Regions from separate parts of the Homo sapiens genome. Here region 1 is linked to region 2. The links are contacts of gene promoters, found by promoter capture Hi-C in human tissues and cell types (Jung and others, 2019). All regions are on one chromosome and are shown on one strand. The core of a region is centred on a gene start or on the middle of the fragment in contact, and the rest is flanking DNA. Distances in the headings are between cores, read along the strand shown. Region 1 has its middle 3.9 kb from the start of FKBP11. Region 2 holds the start of DIP2B (disco interacting protein 2 homolog B).

Region 1 (6,110 bases), core at 1,910-4,409, 1.6 Mb after region 2:
AAACATACCTGAAAGAAAACATCTAGTCAGCTGGGGGTATGTATACCCTTGAAAATACAACACCAGGCCAGGCATGGTGGCTCAATTCTATAACCTCAACACTTTGGGAGGCTTAGGTGGGAGGATAGCTTGAGCCCAGGAGTTTGAGATCAACCTGGGCAACATGGTGAGGCCCCATCTCTATAAGAAAAAAAAAAAAAAAAAAAAAAAAAAAAATATATATATATATATATATATATATATATATATAAATATATGTTTATATGATATATATACAATTATATGTTTATATTATATATATATATATATTTTTACTTTTATTTAAAAAAAATAGAGATGGGATTTCACTATGTTGCCCAAGCTGGTTTCAAACTCCTGGGCTCAAGCAGTCCTCCCACCCCAGCCTCCCAAAGTGCTGGATTTACAGGCATGAGCCATTGTGCCCGGCCAAAAAAAAATGTTTTTAATTAGTTGGGCATGGTGGCACGTGCCTGTGGTCCCAGCTACTCAGGAGGCTGAGGCAGGAGGATTGCTTGAGCCTGAGAGATTGAGGCTGCAGTGAGCTGTGTTTGCGCCACCGCACTGGTGACACAGCAAGACCCTGTCTCAACCAAAATCAAATTTTAAACCCAAATTTATATATGCCAACTCAGGCTTTTACTTTATTAACAACCTGTTATAAATAAACACTTAAGAACATTTAAAGAGCAGTGTTCTGCTTATTCTTTGGCACATAATAGTCATGCAACCTTGATGAACAAATGGATGAATTAATAAACACCATTGTCTTTAATCAAGCTGGGCATGGTGGGTGCCCCATGAGTCTTGGAAGCCCAGGTACTGTGGTAGGGTTTCTCCTACACACTGACAGAGACACCTTTGAGTGTGGAGGCTTTTCTAGCAATGGTTCTGTGATTAAGTTGTATCTCCAGCCAGGGGTGGGCCAACTCTCCTATCTTTCCAAGAATCATCTCACCTTTCTCTGTTGTTTGGATTTCTTCTAACTTGATCCAAGGAAAAAGCTCCTTCTCTGGTCCCTCCAGGGTGCAGATGGGCTTGTGCTGCCTGTGGGTGGATATTGTGTTTAATAGTTTTGCCCTTTCCATTTCTACTACCACCTTCTCCTACTCCACTCCTCTTCCCCTTCAGGTTCCTGAACAGAGCCTCAGACCTGGATAAGACAATAGCCTTCCACCTTCACCACACTGTTCGAGTCTGCTGATACATCAGTGCAGTATGCTGTGTCATCCTTTTGCTTAGAAACTTGCAATGTGTTCCCACTGCCTTAGTCTGACATTCAAGGTTCTTCACAACTAGCCTTTTTTTTTTTTTTTTTTTTTTTTTTTTTTAAGCTGGAGTCTCGCTCTGTCGCCCAGGCTGGAGTGCAGTGGCGCGATCTCGGCTCACTGCAAGCTCCGCCTCCTGGGTTCACGCCATTCTCCTGCCTCAGCCTCCCGAGTAGCTGGGACTACAGGTACCCGCCACCACGCCTGGCTAATTTTTTGTAATTTTAGTAGAGACGGGGTTTCACCGTGTTAGCCAGGATGGGTCTCGATATCCTGACCTCGTGATCCGCCCGCCTCGGCCTCCCAAAGTGCTGGGATTACAGGCGTGAGCCACTGCACCCGGCCTACAACTAGCCCTTAATTCCCTCTCCAGCCACCTCTCTCTAGTCTCTGGCCAAATCCCTTACTTTAGCCAAATCAGTCCATTCATTTTTCCCAAACATCTGGCCCTCTGCCTTCACCTCCTTTCTCACTTGTTTAAAAATCCCACTCCAAGATCTAGCTCAAGTTTCACCTCCTCCACAAAGCTGCCTGTGCCCTCTGCAACTACAAGGACTTTTATAGTTTTTCCCCACGTTGGCTCCTTTAGCTCTGTTAGCACAACTCATTTAACACCTCCCACTCATTCCCTTGTATTGCTATATATCTTGTTTATTCGTGTAATATTTAATATTAAAAATTATTTTTATAACCTGAGAAGTAACATCTGAGCAGGAAAAAAATTATAACCAAAGTAATTTCTATTGTAAAAGATCCAAACAATACAAAAATATACAGAGCAACATGTGGGACATTGCCCTTACTCTTCTCTCTCCCATGCCCAAACGTAACCATCCTCAGCTATTTGATGTGCATCCTTCTAGTTCCTTTTTTAAATGTATGTGCTGACACATGTTTGTGGAGGGGTTAAAATATAAATGGGCTCATATCACATCTGTTATTCTGCTACTTGCTTTTTTACTTAGGGTATATATACATTTGTCTTAGAGATTTTCTATATTAGTGTAATTAGATCTCCTTTTAATGGCTTCTCAGTATTTCATAGTATAATTTCTTCAAAGTAAAACATACTGTCTAGAATCTATTATTTGGAGGCTATCGTGTAGCTAGTACTTAGCTCCAGACATGATTGCAACCTTGACCTTGCCATCAGTTAGCTGGCTCTTTGGGGGAGATAGGAAGGGAGGAATGGGGCATACACAAATAACTGCAACAAAAGGAAAAATATAATAATGTCCACAAGTGTATGCCTGGAGATCCTAGCTAAGAGAATCAGGACTTCACAGAGGAAATGATATTTGAGCTTAGCCTGGAGGGAGCTTGACAGGTAAAAGAAGTGTATGAGTTCAGGCACAGAGATGGAAACAGAAGATGTAGGTTTGTCTGATGCCAGACCACAGTCCATGAGCAGGAAGGGAATTTGGCTCAATTCACAAACATTTACTGAGCATTGATGTGTCAGACACTATACTAGCAATGAAGATTTAGAAATGAGAAACATGAGGTTCCTGTCTCTAAGAGGGATTCAGTTTAATGGAATAAAAGCCAAGTTTGGAAAAGCAGATTAGGGCTGGATGACAAGCTTTCAGTTGTCATGTCAAGGAGTTGGAATTTTATTCACGTGGGCAATGTGAAGCCATGGTAGGCTTTTTAGTGGGCAGATGATGGGACTGAAACTGTAGATAGCAGCAGTGTACACAGTGGTCCAAAGTAGGGAGAGGCTAGGGATCAGGGGCTTATTATTTTTTGAGACAAGGTCTCTGTCACCTAGGCTGGAGTGCAGTGGCGTGATCATGGCTTACTGCAGCCTTGACCTCCTGGACGCAAGTGATCCTCCCACCTTAGCCTCCTGAGTAGCTAAGACCACAGGTGCACACCACCATACCTAGCTAATCGTTAAATTATTTGTAGAGATAGGGTCTTGCCATGTTGCCCAGGCTGGTCTTGAACTCCTGGCCTCAAGCAATCCTCCTGCCTCAGCCTCCCAAAAATGTTGGGATTACAGGTGTGAGCCACCACACCAAGACTTTTTTTTTTCTTTTCTTAAACAAGATAGAAGTTTAAAGGCCGGGCGCGGTGGCTCACGCCTGTAATCCCAGCACTTTGGGAGGCCGAGGCAGGTGGATCTTGAGGTCAGGAGATCGAGACCATCCTGGCTAACAGTGAAACCCCGTCTCCACTAAAAAAAAAAAATACAAAAAGTTAGCTGGGCGTGATGGCGGGCGCCTGTAGTCCCAGCTACTTGGGAGGCTGAGGCAGGAGAATGGCGTGAACCCGGGAGGCGGAGCTTGCAGTGAGCCGAGATTGCACCACTGCACTACAGCCTGGGCAACAGAGTCAGACTCTGTCTCAAAAAAAAAAAAAAAAAAAAAAGATAGAAGTTTATTTCTGCCTCAGTTAAAAGGTGTCTGGGGGCCGTGCATGGTGGCTTACACCTGTGATCCCAGCACTTTGGGAGGCTGAGGCAGGCAGATCACTTGAGGTCAGGAGTTCAACACCGGCCTGGCCGACATGGTGAAACCCCATCTTTACTAAAAATACAAAATTAGCCTGGTGTGGTGGCACACACCTGTAGTCCCAGCTACTCTGGAGGCTGAAACAGGAGAATTGCCTGAACCTGGGAGGTGGAGGCTGCAGTGAGCCAAGATCACAGCATTACACTCCAGCCTGGGCAAGACAGAGTGAGACTTTGTCTCAAATAAATAGACAAATAATAAATACACAAAAATTAGCCAGATATGCTCGCTTGAACTCAGGAGGCGGAGGTTGCAGTGAGCCGAGATCATACCACTGCACTCCAGCCTAGGCAACAGAGCGAGACTCGGTCAAAAGAAAAAAAAAAAGGTGAGCTGGGCGTGGTGACTGATGCCTGTAATCCCAGCACTTTAAGAAGCCGAAGGGGGCAGATCACTTGACTCCAGGAGTTCGAGACCAGTCTGGGCAATATGGCGAAACCCCATCTCTACAAAAAATTTAAAAATTAGCCGGGTGTGGTGGCATGCCTCTGTGGTCCCAGCTACTTGGGAGGCTGAGGCAGGAAAATCACTTGAGCCCAGGAGGCAGAGGTTGCAGTGAGCCAAGATTACACAACTATACTCCAGCCTGGATGACAGAGACCCCCATCTCAAAAAAAAAAAAAAAAAAAAAAGGTATCTGGCAGCTGGTCTGAAGATAGGCATCTCAATTGTTCACGGCCAGTTACAGATTGAACTACTCTTTCCCCCTTCTCACTACTGCACTTGACTAGTCTTTTTTTTTTCCCCCACAAAGAATGGGGCTTCAGATAGAACTGAAAAATAAAAGTGTCTGGTGGTAGGCAATCCAGAGCTGGCATGGTGGCTCTGCAATTAACAAGGACTTATGCTTCTTTTTGCTTCACCATCCTAGCGTGCAGCTTCCATCCTCATGGTCATCTCATGGTCTAATATGGCTTCTAGAGCTTAATTCATCTCATCTGCATTCCAGATAGCAGACAGAAGGAAGGAAAGATGATTAGGGGGAGAGAGAGCAGCACAGAAGGACGCTTTCTAGTTAACTCTTTAAAGGGCCTTCTTGGAAGTCCAGGACAATACTTCCAACACTTCTGTTTATGTTCTCTTGGCCAGAACTTAGTCAACTGGCCATATCCAGCTTTAAGGGAGACTTGGAGTTTTGTGGTTTTTTTGTTTAACTTAAAAAATATCTTGATACGTAATTCGCAAACAGTGAAATGCACAGATTGTAAGTATACAGTTTGATAAGTTCTGACAAATGCATACACCCATGTAACCCACATCCTTCTGAAAATATAGAGCATTTCATCACCCCTAGAAATTCCCTCCTGCTGAGGGGACTTTTTTTTTTTAAACAATACAAATGAGAGATAATGAAGGCTTCTTATCCTGAGGTGGGAGGGTTGTAGCTATGGGAATGGAAGGGAAGAGCTGGAGAGACTTTGGAAGGAGAATCCAGAGTAGACCCGTTGGATGTGGGAGATGAGAGAAGAACGAATGCTGGTAGCAGAGCCACTAACAGAAACAGGAGATAGGGAGGAAGTCTAGGTTGTTGCAGGTGGATTGGAAGAATGAGTACAGTTAAGACTGTTGGCTGGGCGCATTGGCTCACGCCTGTAATCCCAGCACTTCGGGATGCTGAGGCTGGCGGATCACGAGGTCAGCAGTTTGAGAGCAGTCTGGCCAACATGGCGAAACCCCATCTCTACTAAAAATACAAAAATTAGCCAGGCGTGGTGGTGGGTGCCTATAATCCCAGCTACTCGGGAGGCTGAGAGAAAAGAATCGCTTGAACCCGGGAGGTGGAGGTTGCAGTGAGCCAAGATCGTGCCATTGCACTCCAGCCTGGGCGACAAGAGTGAAACTCCGTCTCAACAAACAACAACAACAAAAACTTTTAAAAAGTGGGCTGGGCGTGGTGGCTCATACCTGTAATCCCAGCACTTTGGAAGGCCGAGGTGGGTGGATCACTTGAGGTTGGGAATTCGAGACCAGCCTGACAGACATGGAGAAACCCTGTCTTTACTAAAAATTCAAAATCAGCTGGGCATGGTGGCGCATGCCTGTAGTCCCAGCTACTCGGGAGCAGAGGTTGCGGTGAGCCAAGATCGCGCCATTGCACTCCAGCCTGGGCAACAGGAGCAAAACTCCTCCCCCTCAAAAAAAAAAAAAAAAAAAGAAATCTGGTGGCTCACGCCTGTAATCCTAGCACTTTGAGAGACCGAGGCAGGCGGATCACCTGACATCAGGAGTTTGAGACCAGCCTGGCCAACATGGTGAAACCCCTTATCTACTAAAAATACAAAAATTAGCCGGGCGTGGTGGCGGGTGT
Region 2 (6,001 bases), core at 2,900-5,399:
AAAAGCTACCAGGGTATCCTGCTCATTTGCACACAGTAGGCACAAAATACACATCTGCTGAACTGAATGCATAAGTGATGGATTTGAAAGAGATTTCAGAGAGAGAATCAACACTGTGGTATAGAACTGTTTAGGGCCAGGTGCAGTGGCTTACACCTGTAATCCCAGCACTTCAGGAGGCCAAGGCAGGCAGATCATCTGAGGTCGGGAGATCGAGACCCACCTGACCAACATGGAGAAAACCCGTGTCTACTACAAAATTAGCCAGGCGTGGTGGCGCATGCCTGTAATCCCAGCTACTCAGAAAGGCTGAGGCAGGAGAATCACCTGAACCCGGGAGGCAGAGGTTGCAGTGAGCTGAGATCGCACCATTTCACTCCAGCCTGGGCAACAAGAGAAACTCCATCGCAAAAAAAAAAAAGGTAGCATTTCCTTAGAGAAAAAATTAGTTAACAGCTTGTGCAATGACAGCACAAATATTTAAATCATTCCAATGTCATCGTCACATGACAGCTTAGGATAACGACACTTATTAGGTATGCAGCTTTAGACAAAACAATCTTTCTGAGTACAAGTTTTCCCTTCTGTTAAGCCACAAAAAAGAAAGGGGCGGTGGGTGGTAACAATACCTATTCTATCTAGTGAAGTTTAGTAAAGCTCAAATGACAATGTACAAAAAGATCATTACACAAATATAATGTATTATTGGACAGATTTAAGCAAATTAATTCTCCCCATTAGTGCTACTTTATGTACATACACTTGACTAGACCATATACATAAGTCCAAACAACAGAGCTGTCAAGCATATAATAAAATATGTGGATCATTAAAAATTTCAGTCACAGAAATACTTGCAGAAACCTTCTACCTATTCAACTCGTCTATAGAAAAGCTCATCCTTATGTGGAAATTCAGTTTTTAAATGATTTCCAGGCAGTTTCAGCCTGTTCTTTTTGTGACAGAAGCAGGTTTTAACCAGGAAGCTGCCTGGTGACCTGCCTGAAGCACCAGACACATCACAGGGCTCTGCAACACGCTCTGCAGCAAAGAGCCCAAAGCAGGCACAAACCTGCATTTCAGCACAGAGTTGGCTGATCTATTACCAAAGCCTGCAGCTGAAAATACAGGCAAGCACAAAGAAAATTCTTTAACAGCATACAGCTCAGATTATTGCTATGATTAGGACCAATGACAGGCTGAACCTTAAAAAAAAAAAGAGAGAAAGAAAGAAAAAATGAAAATAGAGAAATGAGTGCACCAATGTCAGCAAGGCATGATAAACACACAGTTAAAAGCATCTTTAGCGGTGGCTCACGCCTGTAATCCTAACACTTTGGGAGGCTGAGGTTGGTGGATCATTTGAGGTCAGGAGTTTAAGATCAGCCTGGCCAACACGGTGAAACCCGGTCTCTACTATAAATACAAAAAAAATTAGCCCGGCAGTAGTGGCGCTTGCCTGTAATCCCAGCTACTGGGGAGGCTGAGGCAGGAGAACTGCTTGACCCTGGGAGGCGGAGGTTGCGGTAAGCTAAAATCGGGCAACAGTGTGAGACTCCATCTCAAAAAAAACAAACGAAAGAAAAGCATCTAAAACAAAAAAAGACAAAGTACTTATGTTAGAGCAGAGTAACTGTAGAGAAAATGCAAAACGAACAAACCTTAGCTCCAAATATGCTACAGGCATCACAAATAACACCATACTACACAGATATGGGGACTTTTGGATTATTTTAACTTCACTTGAATTCCTAATGTCTATCCACTTCTCCAGCCAACCATCCCCTGTACTTTAAGCAAGAAAGATGACCAATATGCTGACACTGCAGGCCCAAGTTTTTCAATTGTATTTTTTCCAGTCATCCATTGCTAAAACAAATGAAATACAAGAAGTGTAGTATATCTATAAGAAACAAATTCAAACCAAGTCAGATGCCAACCAAAATAATCCTTCATTGGAAAGCAAACCATGCACTTGTCCTTAAAATGTTTAAGCCTTGGCATTCACAATTTGTAGAAGTTTCACACCTTTCTGAAGGAGAGAGAGGTGAGCTAATCAGTGTGGGTCCTAGAAATAGTTCCTCAGAATGTTTCTAGACATTCTAGAGATGTCTAGAAACACCCAGAGATGTAAACAACAATCAGCTGGAAGCAGATATACCCAGAATAAGGAGCTTCCAGGATTTCCCTCTCCGTGTGAAAGCAATCAACTCCTATTTTTAATCTCCCTCTGACGCAAGCATCCAGGCAAACCTCTCTCTAATCAAAGCTAGATGATTTGTTACTTTCAAATAGCAGTTTTAAAAGTCAGATTTTAATGCAAGTCAACACAGATTTAATGTCAATGCTTTAGTCTAGGAGAAGAATGAGTTATCTTGAGAGACAGAATTGATGGTAATGCAAAAAGCTCCTCGATTTTCGAAGCGGGGGGAACTTAAGGTATAACTGGGCAGACAAACCCAGAGGATTCCTATCTTCTTAAACACTTCACAGAAACAAACTAATCTAATACCAGTGATTCCCGGGACTGGCCGAAGAATAACTTGAAAATTGGATTAATTGAAAAATAACATGTTGATAGTTAAGTACAGGTAAAAACAGCACTTTCCTACACATTGGGTTATTAAAAGGGTTATTAAAAATAATTATTTCCTTCAGTGCCCAACAGGATTTATAACATTCAACTCTATTTTTGGTTTTTCATTGTAAAGGATTCTCAGAGGGGAGGGAACCATAATGCCTTAATAAGTAAACAATAAGTAATGTTTAATAAGCTCCTGGGAGTTGGTCACATTCTTCTTTTCCAATCAAGAGTTTTTGATCCACTTGAAAAATGCTAGTGAAGAGGGCCTTCCACAAGGAACTCAGTAAGAATATGCAACTCTGGAGACACAATCAAAGTACTGGTATCAAGCTTGGAGAAAATGCTGCTTTTGTCTCAGGGGCAGCCAGTGATAAAAACAGGAACTTTACACAGAACTGATCACAACTGCCCCAGAAGCCTGATCACATGCCCACAACGGAGCACTGTGTTTCTCTCATTGTTGTACAAGGAGTTCTCTAATAACAGTGGCTTGATTTATCCCATTTTTTTTTTTTAATTCTGAAAATAAATCGAACCCTCCCTGTCCCAATCCATTGTCAAAAGAAAGAATGCCAGCCAGGATTTGCAAGTAAACGGTAGCCTCCTCTCCTTCCTTCATCAAAGACTCCAAAAGGTGACCAGATGCGGAAAATTCGGCCCGAATAACAGGCACCAGGAAAAAAAAAAACTTCTTATGACAAAGGTGGTCTAAAAGCAGCACCGTGTGTCTCTCTGGGTTAATGCCATTGCTTCTTATCTTCCTAGGACCCTAAATGGCTCACCCGCTTGTGTCTCACTCCTGTCACTGGGGAGGCATCGCGCATTGTTAAAGGAAAGAGAAGAAATGATGCTGCGGATTTCCCATGTGTCTCTTTTTGAAAGGGGGAAGGGGGGGCTGGAACAAGGCGTGGAGCCCTCCACGAAAAGGGGAGAGGAAAGGAGAAAGCTGTCAGCCACCCTCCTCGCAGCCCTACCCCTCACCCCACCTGGGCCAGACGCCTGGGCAGAAGCGGGAGGGCGCAGCTTTGTCTCGGGTTTTGGGGGGCAGGAAGCGCAGAAGCAGTGTGGGCCCGGGAGGACCTTTCCACAAGCCCTTACTTAGTCCCCTCCATGGGAAAACAATGAAAGCCACAGGAAACCACTTAATGGGGTGGGAGAGGAGGGAAAACGGTCGTGGAGCGCCAGGCCAGGTTCTCTACACCCTCGTCCCCCTCGCCGCACGGCCGCCAGAGCGCGCGGCGGGGACCTGTCTCCCAAGTCGCCGCGATCCGCAGGGCCCCGGGCGCCCTCTCCCCGGCCCGGCTCCTACCCTCCGAGAGCTCCAGCTCCAGCTCCGCCAGCTGCGCCCGCACTTCAGGCGGCAGCGCCGCCACCGCGGCCGGCGACGGCTCCAGGCCTCGTTCCGCCATCCCAGCTCCGCCAGCCACACTCCGGAAGACAAGAGAGGGGGCCGAAGGAGGGACGGACAGACACGGGCCCACACCCGGCTACAGGATCCGGCTCCGGCCGCCGAGCACCACCAGCACCGCCGCCGCCGCCGCCGCCGCCATGAGCAAAGGTCACGTGAGCGCGACGGCCCCCGCCCCCCGGCCAGGAGGACGCACCGCCTCTCCAGCCCAGTCAGGCTGAAGACGCATATGCTTACGGCGCCCTCTACTGGGAAGCTACCAGAACGACGGGCCCAAGCCCACCACTCGAATTTCCCTGCGCGAAATGGGCTCATGGTATGGACTGTCGGCTTTACCACAGTAGTGTGGACACATAGCATTTACCTTTCACTCTCGAGCAAGTTTTTAGGGGTCCCAGGCCTTACTTTTTCCAATACTAGACTTAGCAATGTATGTCTATCGTGTCCTTTACTCCATTTTCCCTGATTAATACCTGCCCATTTATAAAAACCTAATCACAGGCCACCTCCTTCGCTGTGGCTCCTGGTCCTATCTGCCAGGAGCTCTGTTTCCGTTTCAGTTTTAGCTTTTAAAAAGACAGGCGCGGTGGCTCTCGCCTGTAATCCTAGCACTTTGGGAGGCTGAGGCTGGTGGATCACCTGAGGTTAAGAGTACCAGGCTAGCCGACCGGGCGCGGTGGCTCACGCCTGTAATCCCAGCACTTTGGGAGGCCGAGACGGGTGGATCACGAAGTCAGGAGATCGAGACCATCCTGGCTGACACGGTGAAACCCCGTCTCTACTAAAAGTACAAAAAATTAGCCGGGCGTGGTGGCGGGCGCCTGTAGTCCCAGCTACTCGGGAGGCTGAGGCAGGAGAATGGCGTGAACCCGGGAGGCGGAGCTTGCAGTGAGCCAAGATCACGCCACTGCACTCCAGCCTGAGCGTGAGCGCGAGACTCCGACTCAAAAAAAAAAAAAAAAGAGTACTAGGCCAGCCTGGCCAACATGGTGAAACCCCGTCTCCAATAAAAATACAAAAATTAGCCGGGCGTGGTGGCGGATGCCTGTACTCCTAGCTACTCAAGAGGCTGAGGCAGGAGAATCACTTGAACCCAGGAGGCAGAGGTTACAGTAAGCTGAGATCGCGTCATTGCACTCCAGCCCGGGCAAGAGAGCAAACACTCCGTCTAAAGAAAAGAAAAAGACAATAGAGAGCAGGTCCACTTCTTTCTTTCTATACTTCTAACTACTTACAAGGAGGGAACTTACTTTAACTCATCCTCCTCACTCTGTGGCCTAATAGGTGTTCCAAAAACATTAATTTTAATTTAATATGAAGAGGGTCCAAGGCTAGGTGCAGTGGCTCACACCTATGATCCCAGCACTTTGGGAGGCCAAGGTGGGCGGATCACCTGAGGTCAAGAGTTCGAGACCAGCCTGGCCAACATGGCGAAACCCCGTCTCTACTAAAAACACAAAAATTAGCCGGGAGTAGTGGCACATGCCTGTAATCCCAGCTACCTGGGGGAGCTGAGGTAGGAACGTCGCTTGAACCCGGGAGGCCAAGGTTACAGTGAGCTGAGAACATGGCGGCTGCGCTCCAGCCTGGGCAACGCAGTGAAACTGTTTCAAAAAAAAAAAAAAAAGTCAAGGCCGGGCGTGGTCGCTCACATCTGTAATCCCAGCACTTTGGGAGGCCGAGGCAGGCAGATCACCTGAGGTCAGGAGTTGGAGATCAGCCTGACCAGTATGGTGAAACCCCGCGTCTACTAAAAATACAAAAATTAGCTGGGCATGGTGGCATGTGCCTGTAATCCCAGCTACTCGGGAGGCTGAGACAGGAGAATCGCTTGAACCCGGGAAGTGGAGGTTGCGGTAAGCCCAGATTGCACCACTGCATTCCAGCCTGGGCAACAAGAGCGAAACTCCGTCTCAAAAAAAAAAAAAAAAAAAAAGGAAAAACTGGATGAAGCATACACAGGAATTATCTGTACTATCTTTGCAACTTTTCAGTAAATTTAAAACCAT

Evidence for each region. Contacts are between HindIII fragments. The study calls those that stand out against the background at their distance.
Region 1: a fragment that was not itself captured here is called in contact with the fragment with the promoter of DIP2B in region 2 in 1 of the 25 tissues and cell types used here (bladder).

What each region holds. Positions count from the first base shown.
Region 1 is chr12:48,926,368-48,932,477 of GRCh38, reverse strand. It overlaps a transcript of FKBP11 not described here. Among named protein-coding and RNA genes, the nearest start is that of FKBP11, 3.9 kb to the right of the region's middle. The HindIII fragment of the contact is 4,385 bases long and covers 967-5,351 here.
Region 2 is chr12:50,503,133-50,509,133 of GRCh38, reverse strand. DIP2B (disco interacting protein 2 homolog B) reads right to left here and starts at 4,149. Exons shown (of 38, transcript NM_173602.3): 1 at 3,894-4,149. The coding sequence starts at 3,993. RefSeq lists a silencer at 3,737-3,846. The HindIII fragment of the contact is 9,488 bases long and covers 1-6,001 here.